Linked DNA regions of Homo sapiens: region 2 is linked to region 1. The links are contacts of gene promoters, found by promoter capture Hi-C in blood cells and fetal thymus (Javierre and others, 2016). All regions are on one chromosome and are shown on one strand. The core of a region is centred on a gene start or on the middle of the fragment in contact, and the rest is flanking DNA. Distances in the headings are between cores, read along the strand shown.

What was found. The method cuts DNA at HindIII sites, captures the fragments that hold promoters and counts their contacts. A CHiCAGO score of 5 or more calls a contact.
Region 2: a fragment that was not itself captured here is called in contact with the fragment with the promoter of SPP2 in region 1 in 1 of 17 cell types (endothelial precursors); the score reaches 5.4 in endothelial precursors.

The regions. Positions count from the first base shown.
Region 1 is chr2:234,048,623-234,052,697 of GRCh38, reverse strand. It overlaps SPP2 (secreted phosphoprotein 2), which reads right to left and starts at 1,996. Exons shown (of 8, transcript NM_006944.3): 1 at 1,827-1,996; 2 at 1,603-1,727. The coding sequence starts at 1,911. The HindIII fragment of the contact is 10,293 bases long and covers 1-4,075 here.
Region 2 is chr2:235,116,917-235,120,991 of GRCh38, reverse strand. No RefSeq gene overlaps it. Among named protein-coding and RNA genes, the nearest start is that of SH3BP4, 170 kb to the right of the region's middle. The HindIII fragment of the contact is 1,569 bases long and covers 1,005-2,573 here.

The DNA of each region.
Region 1 (4,075 bases), core at 747-3,246:
AAAGGAGCAGTGTACTTGAGGTGGAGAGGCAACATTTTTCATGTGCTCATCAAGAGTCACACACATCGCATATAATTGTATCTATTTTTAGGTGCATGTGCGTCTGGGCTCAAGTCTGGGTGACTATACCAAGATGGCACATGAGCCAGAACACGCTCTGGTGGCTGTGCCTCACAATAGCTCATCTCCACAGGGCAGATTTCCACGGTGTCAGTAATTGGTTCTCTTGGGATCTATCCTCATGCTCTTATTCATCTAATAAACTGCTAACTTTCTTCTGTGGTGAGCAATAGCTAAATCAAAAGTAAATTTAAACTGTTCATCTGCAAGGTTGGCAAAAAGACCCCGATTCCACACCACCACAAGTGGATTTCATTAAATGCCAATGGAAACTGGCATTTGAAATACAATACAAGCAAGGAAAGGGGGTTCTGTATTCTGATCCAGGAGCAGCTCAACCTTTGGTGTGGCAGCTGACCAGTGCCTCCACACCACAACATCCAGAGCAAGTGACTCCACTCTGGCCATGATTCTGGAATGGCACCTAAAAAAAAGCATAGCCCATAGTCTTCATGAACTATAATCAAACTAGAAAATAAAACTGGGTCCTTTTGATTCATTTCCCTTGAAATTTGGAAAAGAGAAACTAGGAGCCAGGTTCTGAGGAAGATCAAGCTGAATATGTTGTATTTGGAGACTAGAACTAGGAAATCATGAGCCATGTGCTCTACAGAGTAGCAGAGGGAACAAGCTAAGAGTCAGTCCAGGAGGGATGGGAGAAGGCAGCAGGCAGACAGAGAGAAAGCAATGTCCATCTGGCCTCTGCTGCCTGGACCTTCAGCCGTGTCTTCATTCTCATTCCCATGCTGCCTGGCTATACAGAGCCTTCATTCCTAAGATGTGCAACTTTATAGAACCTCTCTACCTCCCACCTTAACCTAAATTTGCTTGAAAATATGTTCATCCCTACCTCCAAATGAGCCCCATGCAGATGATAATAAGGCAGTGAAATTACCTGGGGAACAGGAAGAAGGGAGATGACTTGCTGCTTATGTTTCTCATTTCCTTTGAAGGATATTTTTACATTTCTTTCCTTGCATATCACAGACTTAGTCATTGGAAGCCCAAGTGATTACTCTTTCTTTAGCTCCCAAAGCTAAGAGGAAACAGACTATTACCAAATTGACAAGGAAAGGTGAATTTCTTTGACTCAAAAGCCAGATTATTTCCAGTAAGTATTAGGAGCAGAACTGCTGAATTTGAAAGGAGGCTCATTTCCAATAAATGAGAAGTTCGTAATAAAACACCTCAGAAAGAATCGCGAGGACTTCAAGTACAAAAGCAGGCTGCAGGGAACCAGAAGACAAGGTTAGAGAGGAGAATACAGCAGAAGAATCAGTCATCAAAAGTGGTTTGGATAGCCTCATGACAAAAAATTGTAATTAAATCTTTCTCTGTCAAAGAAAAGAGACAGTATGAAAGAGATGACTAGCTACTATCATTTTTAAACTGGAGAAAATTTCTTAAAAGTATATCCAATGAACTGACAAAAGGCAGACAGCATTGGAAGGAGGAGTAGAGAAGATTTCATTTTGCACTTACTCTTTTTAATGAGCTTCTGAATGCCCGAAACAGATACGGACTCAGTGACTGGGAATTCACTTTTACCACAGAGGCACTGAGGGCATCCCTTAAGGAGGATGGATCGTAGTCGTACACTGGGAAACCTGGACACGCAAGCACATGGGGCACAGTGAGACAAGACACAGGCGCCAGCATGGCTCTGCATGATCCAGAGCAGGTGGCCAGGTTGGTGAATACCTTACCTGAGCAAGACCAGTAGTTCATTCCAAGAGCAAACATAATCAATATCTTCATCATCATCGTCATCTTCTCCATTCTGGAAATCATGATTGTAATCGAGAGACAGAGAGTGTCTCTCTATGTGTTTGGGGATGACAGTTCTTCCTAAGAGGAGCTGTCTTTATCAAACACTGGCTGCTTATTTTGACTGCAGCAATCTGTAACTTAAACAGAAACAATTGATCCTGGGGTCAATATTTTCTGCTGACTTTTCCTATGGAAAGGTTCCAGTTTGAGGACACTTTTGAAGTTTACAACTCACAAGAGAACTTTAGCCCAAGGCAAAAGGCATCAAGAGGCTCAGGATTCCACGTGTGCTGTTTATTTTTCTCTATTTTAATTTCATTCTTTGGAGGGGATATAATCTTACATTCAACAAAATGGTTAATCTTAAATTGTTGTGTATTGAGATCCCCTCATGGTTCTAAAGATCTTGCAGTTGACTACTTATGAAAATAGTGTGGGTATAAGATCTTCTTGGAAATTATGACTTTGGAGAAGATAATTTTATATAGGGGTCCTAAATATTCGAAGCAAGTACAAGTGCAGTAAAAAGCTGGGACACACCATCCTATTAACCAATCTTCTGTGCTACTGGACACTTTTGCACATCACCTGGATAATAAGGTATTTACATATTGATGATTCCCATGCACTGTAAGATCCCAAGGTAGTTTTTGAATGATTAAAAAGGAGAACTACTTAATTGGAAGTACAGTTTGTGTTGTATGTAGGTCATTGTGTTCTTATTTGTGGATTTCACGCATAAGAAGCTGTGTTTTGTCTCAGAAAGACCTGGACTGAGATCTTGGCTCTACCATGTACCAGGAGTATCCCCTTGGGCATGGCACTCAACACCTCTGAACCTCAATTTTCTCATCTATAAAATAGGCATAAATGGTTAGAGGTCAGGTGTGTTCTTAGTCAGGGTTCTCCAGAAAGGAGAACCAAAATATAGAGGGAAAGAAAAAGAGAGATTTTTTAAATATATACTTTAAGTTCTGGGGCACATGTGCAGAACCTTCAGGTTTGTTACATAGGTATACATGTGCCATGGTTGTTTGCTGCACCCATCAACCCATCATCTACATTAGGTATTTCTCCTAATACTATCCCTCCCCCAGCCCCCCACCCCCCAACAGGCCCCGGTGTGTGATGTTCCTCTCCCTGTGTCCATTTGTTCTCATTGTTCAACTCCCACTTATGAGTGAGAACATGTGGTGTTTGGTTTTCTGTTCTTGTGTTAGTTTGCTGAGATTGATGGTTTCCAGCTTCATCCACGTCCCTACAAAGGACATGAACTCATCCCTTTTTATGGCTGCTTAGTATTCCATGGTGTATATGTGCCACATTTTCTTTATCCAGTCTATCATTGACAGGTATTTGGGTTGGTTCCAAGTCTTTGCTATTGTGAACAGTGCCACAATAAACATACCTGTGCATGTGTCTTTATAGTAGAATGATTTATAATCCTTTGTGTACATACCCAGTAATGGGATTGCTGGGTCAAATGGTATTTCTAGTTCTAGATCCTTGAGGAATTGCCACACTGTCTTCCACAATGGTTGAACTAATTCACACTCCCACCAACAGTGTAAAAGTGTTACTATTTCTCCACATCCTCTCCAGCATCTGTTGTTTCCTGACTTTTTAAGGATCGCCATTCTAACTGGCGTGAGATGATATCTCATTGTGGTTTTGATTTGCATTTCTCTAATCACCAATGATGATGAGCATTTTTTCATGTGAGTGTTGGCTGCATAAATGTTTTCTTTTGAGAAGTGTCGGTTCATATCCTTTGCTCACTTTTTAATGGGGTTGGTTGTTTTTTCCTTGTGGCTAGCCATATGCAGAAAGATGAAACTAGATCCCTTCCTTACACCTTATACAAAAATTAACTCAAGATGGATTACAGACTTAAACGTAAAACCTAAAACCATAAAAACCCTAGAAGAAAACCTAAGCAATACCATTCAGGACATAGGCATGGGCAAAGACTTCATGACTAAAATACCAAAAGCAATGGCAACAAAAGCCAAAATAGACAAATGGGCTCTAATTAAACTAAAGAACTTCTGCAGAGCAAAAGAAACTATCATCAGAGTGAACAAGCAACCTACAGAATGGGAGAAAATTTTTGCGATCTATCCATCTGACAAAGGGCCAATACCTAGAATCTACAAAGAGCTTAAACAAGTTTACAAGAAAGAGA
Region 2 (4,075 bases), core at 540-3,039, 1.1 Mb before region 1:
AAAAGTATCTGTATGTTCTTAGCTTACAAAATCTTTGTTTTTATCAAGAATGGATCTGGCCCCCCCTCCGAAATCTCTTATTTCATTTGTTCCTTTTATCTACTTGATTAAATTTATTAAGAGAATAATTGTGTTTCACTGTATGACAATACCATAATTTATATATTCATTCTACTATTCAAGGATATTTGCATTGTTTTGCATTTTTAGCTTTACATTTAATGTTGCTATGAATGCTTTTGCGCATATATTTTGGTATATTTGTGCATGGGCCATAAAATATGTGTATATTCAATTTTAATAAATAATACTAAATAGATTTCCAAAGTGCTTATATCAATTTACTTACACTGCCACTAATAGTGCACATGAATTACTCCACATCCTCATCAACACTTAATGAAGTCAGTCTTTTAATTTCAGCTCATCTAGAATGTATTTAAGAATTTAGCTAATAAAATGGTAGTCTCTTACTGTGTTTTAAATTTGTATTTCTCTGGTAGCTAATGAAGTCGAAGTTCTTCTTAGATTCTTTTGGAAAGTTCCTGATCAAATTTTTTACACATTTTCCTTTTCATTGATCTTGAATATAAGCCTTTGGTCAAGTACATGGTTCACAAATATAAACATTTATATTTGTTGGTATTGCATTTTTATTCTTTTAAAGGTCTATTTTGGTAAACAGAAATGCTTAATGTCAATCATCAATTTATGTTTAATTTATCAATTATGTTCATTAGGTTTAGTGTCTTTTTAAAAATCTATTTCAGAAATCGGTTCTTACATCAAAGTCATGAAGATATTCTCCATCTTTAGTATTTCTTTTAGTGCAAGTCTACTGGATACAAATTTTCTCAGCTTTCATTTGTCAAAAATTCCTTATTTTGCTTTATTTTCATTAATATTTTCAATGTTTATAAAATTTTAGTTTGGCTGATACCTAGCCCTTTAAAGATGTCATTCCACTTGCTCCCATGAGTATGTTGTACAGTCAGCTGTAAGCTTTATTCTTGATCCTTTGAAAGTAAAGTATTCCCACTATTCCCGCCTGCTTTTAAGATTTTCATTTTGTCTTTGGTTTTCAGCAGCTTGACTAAGATGTGCCTATTCTAGTTATCTTGGGGTTTGCATAGACTCTTGAACCTGTGGGTTGTTGTCTTTCATTATATTTTAAAACATATACTTAGCCATTCTGTCTTCAAATATTATTTATGCTCTTTTCCCTCTTCTCCTTTGGGGACACAATATTCTGTATATGTACACAATATTCTGTACTGTTCATTCCATTATTTTTCTCTCTTTGCTTCAGTTTGAATAAATTCTATTCCTCCCCATCTTCTGTTATGTCCAGTGTACTGTTAAATTCATCTAATGAATTCTTCATTTCAAATATTGTATTTTTCAGTTCTAGACCGCCCAGTTGCTTTGTTCATATATATTCAATTATGTTGAAATTCTCTATATTTTCTCTTGTTTTTCCATGCCATCCTTTATTTTCTTGAATGGCTAATCAATTTTTAAAATTTCTCTTTGATAACTCCAATATCTAAATCACCTGTGAGACTATATATAATGTTTACATTTTTCTTAACGTTTGTTTCTCTTGGTCCTGTCTTTTTTACCATAACCTTTAATTTTTATATTTTATTTTGCTCATTGTAGATAAAAATTGTAGAGGCTCCGATAATGATGTTTTTCTTCAAAGAAAGTTTTTTTCTTCCTGTCAGGCAGTTCTCTATCAGTGAATCACCTTGGGTCCCATGGAGGCTTGATTTTCAGCTTTGTTAGAGGTGGTCTCTATTCCTCATGCAACGATTTAAAAAAATTCCCACAGGGAAAACAACCAGGGTTAATGTAGACATTATCTTGTGTGAGCACTATTCGCAATAGCAAAGACCTGGAACCAACCCAAATGTCCAACAATGATAGACTGGATTAAGAAAGTGTGGCACATACACACCATGGAATACTATGCAGCCATAAAAAATGATGAGTTCATGTCCTTTGTAGGGACATGGATGAAGCTGGAAACTATCATTATCAGCAAACTATTGCAAGGACAAAAAACCAAACATCGCATGTTCTCACTCATAGGTGGGAATTGAACAATGAGAACACATGGACACAGGAAGGGGAACATCACACACCGGGGCCTGTTGTGGAGTGGGGGGAGGGGGGAGGGATAGCATTAGGAGATATACCTAATGTAAATGACAAGTTAATGGGTGCAGCACACCAACATGGCACATGTATACATATGTAACAAACCTGCACGTTGTGCACATGTACCCTAGAACTTAAAGTATAATAAAAAAAAGAGAGAAAAAAAAAGAATACCAGAAAAGAAAAAAAAGAAATTATCTTGTGTGCTTCCCTTCTCTCACTCTCACAATTGTGCCTTTCAGTACTGTCTACATTAGTTGCTGCCCACTGCTTCACACAGTCATTTTGTACATTTTATTCAGCTTTTATAGGATTTTTTCTTGGCATGAAAGTTAGTCCAATTTAAGTCACTCCATTATGTCTGAAAGCAGACACTTGATTTGTCTCAATTAGAGATATTTTACAAAGCTTTTATGGCCTCACTTTTTACATGCCTGATTGGAATATAGAATGTTGGCGTTGTGAGTATGTGCGTGTGTATTTGTATATACACATACTTCTACTGCTTTCATGCTTCTGTTAATTACTCCTTGTATTTCAGTTTTTGCTTTATGTATTTTTAAAGCTGTAGATGGCACTTTCTATAAATTTAAATGTCCAATTTTGTCTCAAGTATTTTTTCTAGCCATTGCTGTCATAAAATTTCTTTCTCTCGCTAGTAGTTTGGTAGCCTGGAAAAAATAGGAGTGGAGAAACTCCAGAGACCATAATAGCAGGGAGAGTTACCACCTTACCACTTTGTTTCTTATCGTCTTTGCCAAACCATCCAAACATTTATCTGTTTTGTTCACCGTTGCCTGTCATGCTTTCCATATAGAATAAACTTTTAATGTTATTTAATTGTAACTTCTCTTTTAATCAGCAGTCTATTGTGGTTTTGTATTCTAATAGAAGATGGAAGCCTTTGCCTTTTAATAAATAGCACTTATTACGTGTCAGATTTTATGCTTTTTTTTTCAGTCACCTTGATATTTCTTTTTTGTTATTCCATTTACTCTAGGAAACTGTGATTCACTTCCCCATGTAAAACTGATCCCCAGGCATTCAATCTATTCCTTAGTCGTTAGTGGTTGCCCACTAAGTTTCAAGCGAGGAGACAGCTTCCTGACTTTCAATCCATTAATACATTTTGATCACAGTCCCACCACTTAACTATCTTTGTCATCTCAGGTAAGGTCCTCAGTTTTGTCACCTCTAGAACAAATCAATTAAACAAAATGATTTGTTCTCTACAAGTATAAAGGTTTAAAAGATAGTATTCCACTAGGCTTTTTTGCTTATTTTCTTAATAAAAACACCCCAAATATTTCTAAAGCAGCAGGCTTCTTAGCTTTCTCTGAAATTACTTCAGGCAAAGGCACTATTCAATTATGCTTATCAGCTCAGACTGATGGGCTATATGTCTAAAATTGGCCCATAAAGGTAAAAGCATTATTAATTAATACATGAAAGCTTAGGAAATAAAGTACTTTGGAAAATCTATGAATTTTCATTTGAATAACATTACAAAAGAATTTAAGTTGCAAGACCATATACAACATCATAAGTTAGGGAGGAAAATAAAGAATAAAAAGAAATTTCAGATACAGAACCAATGGAGATGGAATTACTAGTTTGGGATGAACGGACTGGAAATAAACAAGCTACTGTTTCCTTCCTCGTCTTTTCACAATCCGCTGCAATGGATTCAGAAAAAGAAAGATTGTAATTGTTACAGCCTGTTTATTTCCACCAGGGGGAGGTATAGTATTGCAAATAAAGTTAAATTATTTAACAAACAGAGTAATAAAATAGCTATTGACTGAAAACAGGCTTTTTTTTTCTGGTTTTGCAGAAAGAAGGTAGGGAAGAGAGAGTTCTAAGACTGTGTGAATTAACCTTTCATGCTTAATTCCTGTACCATTTGATAAGG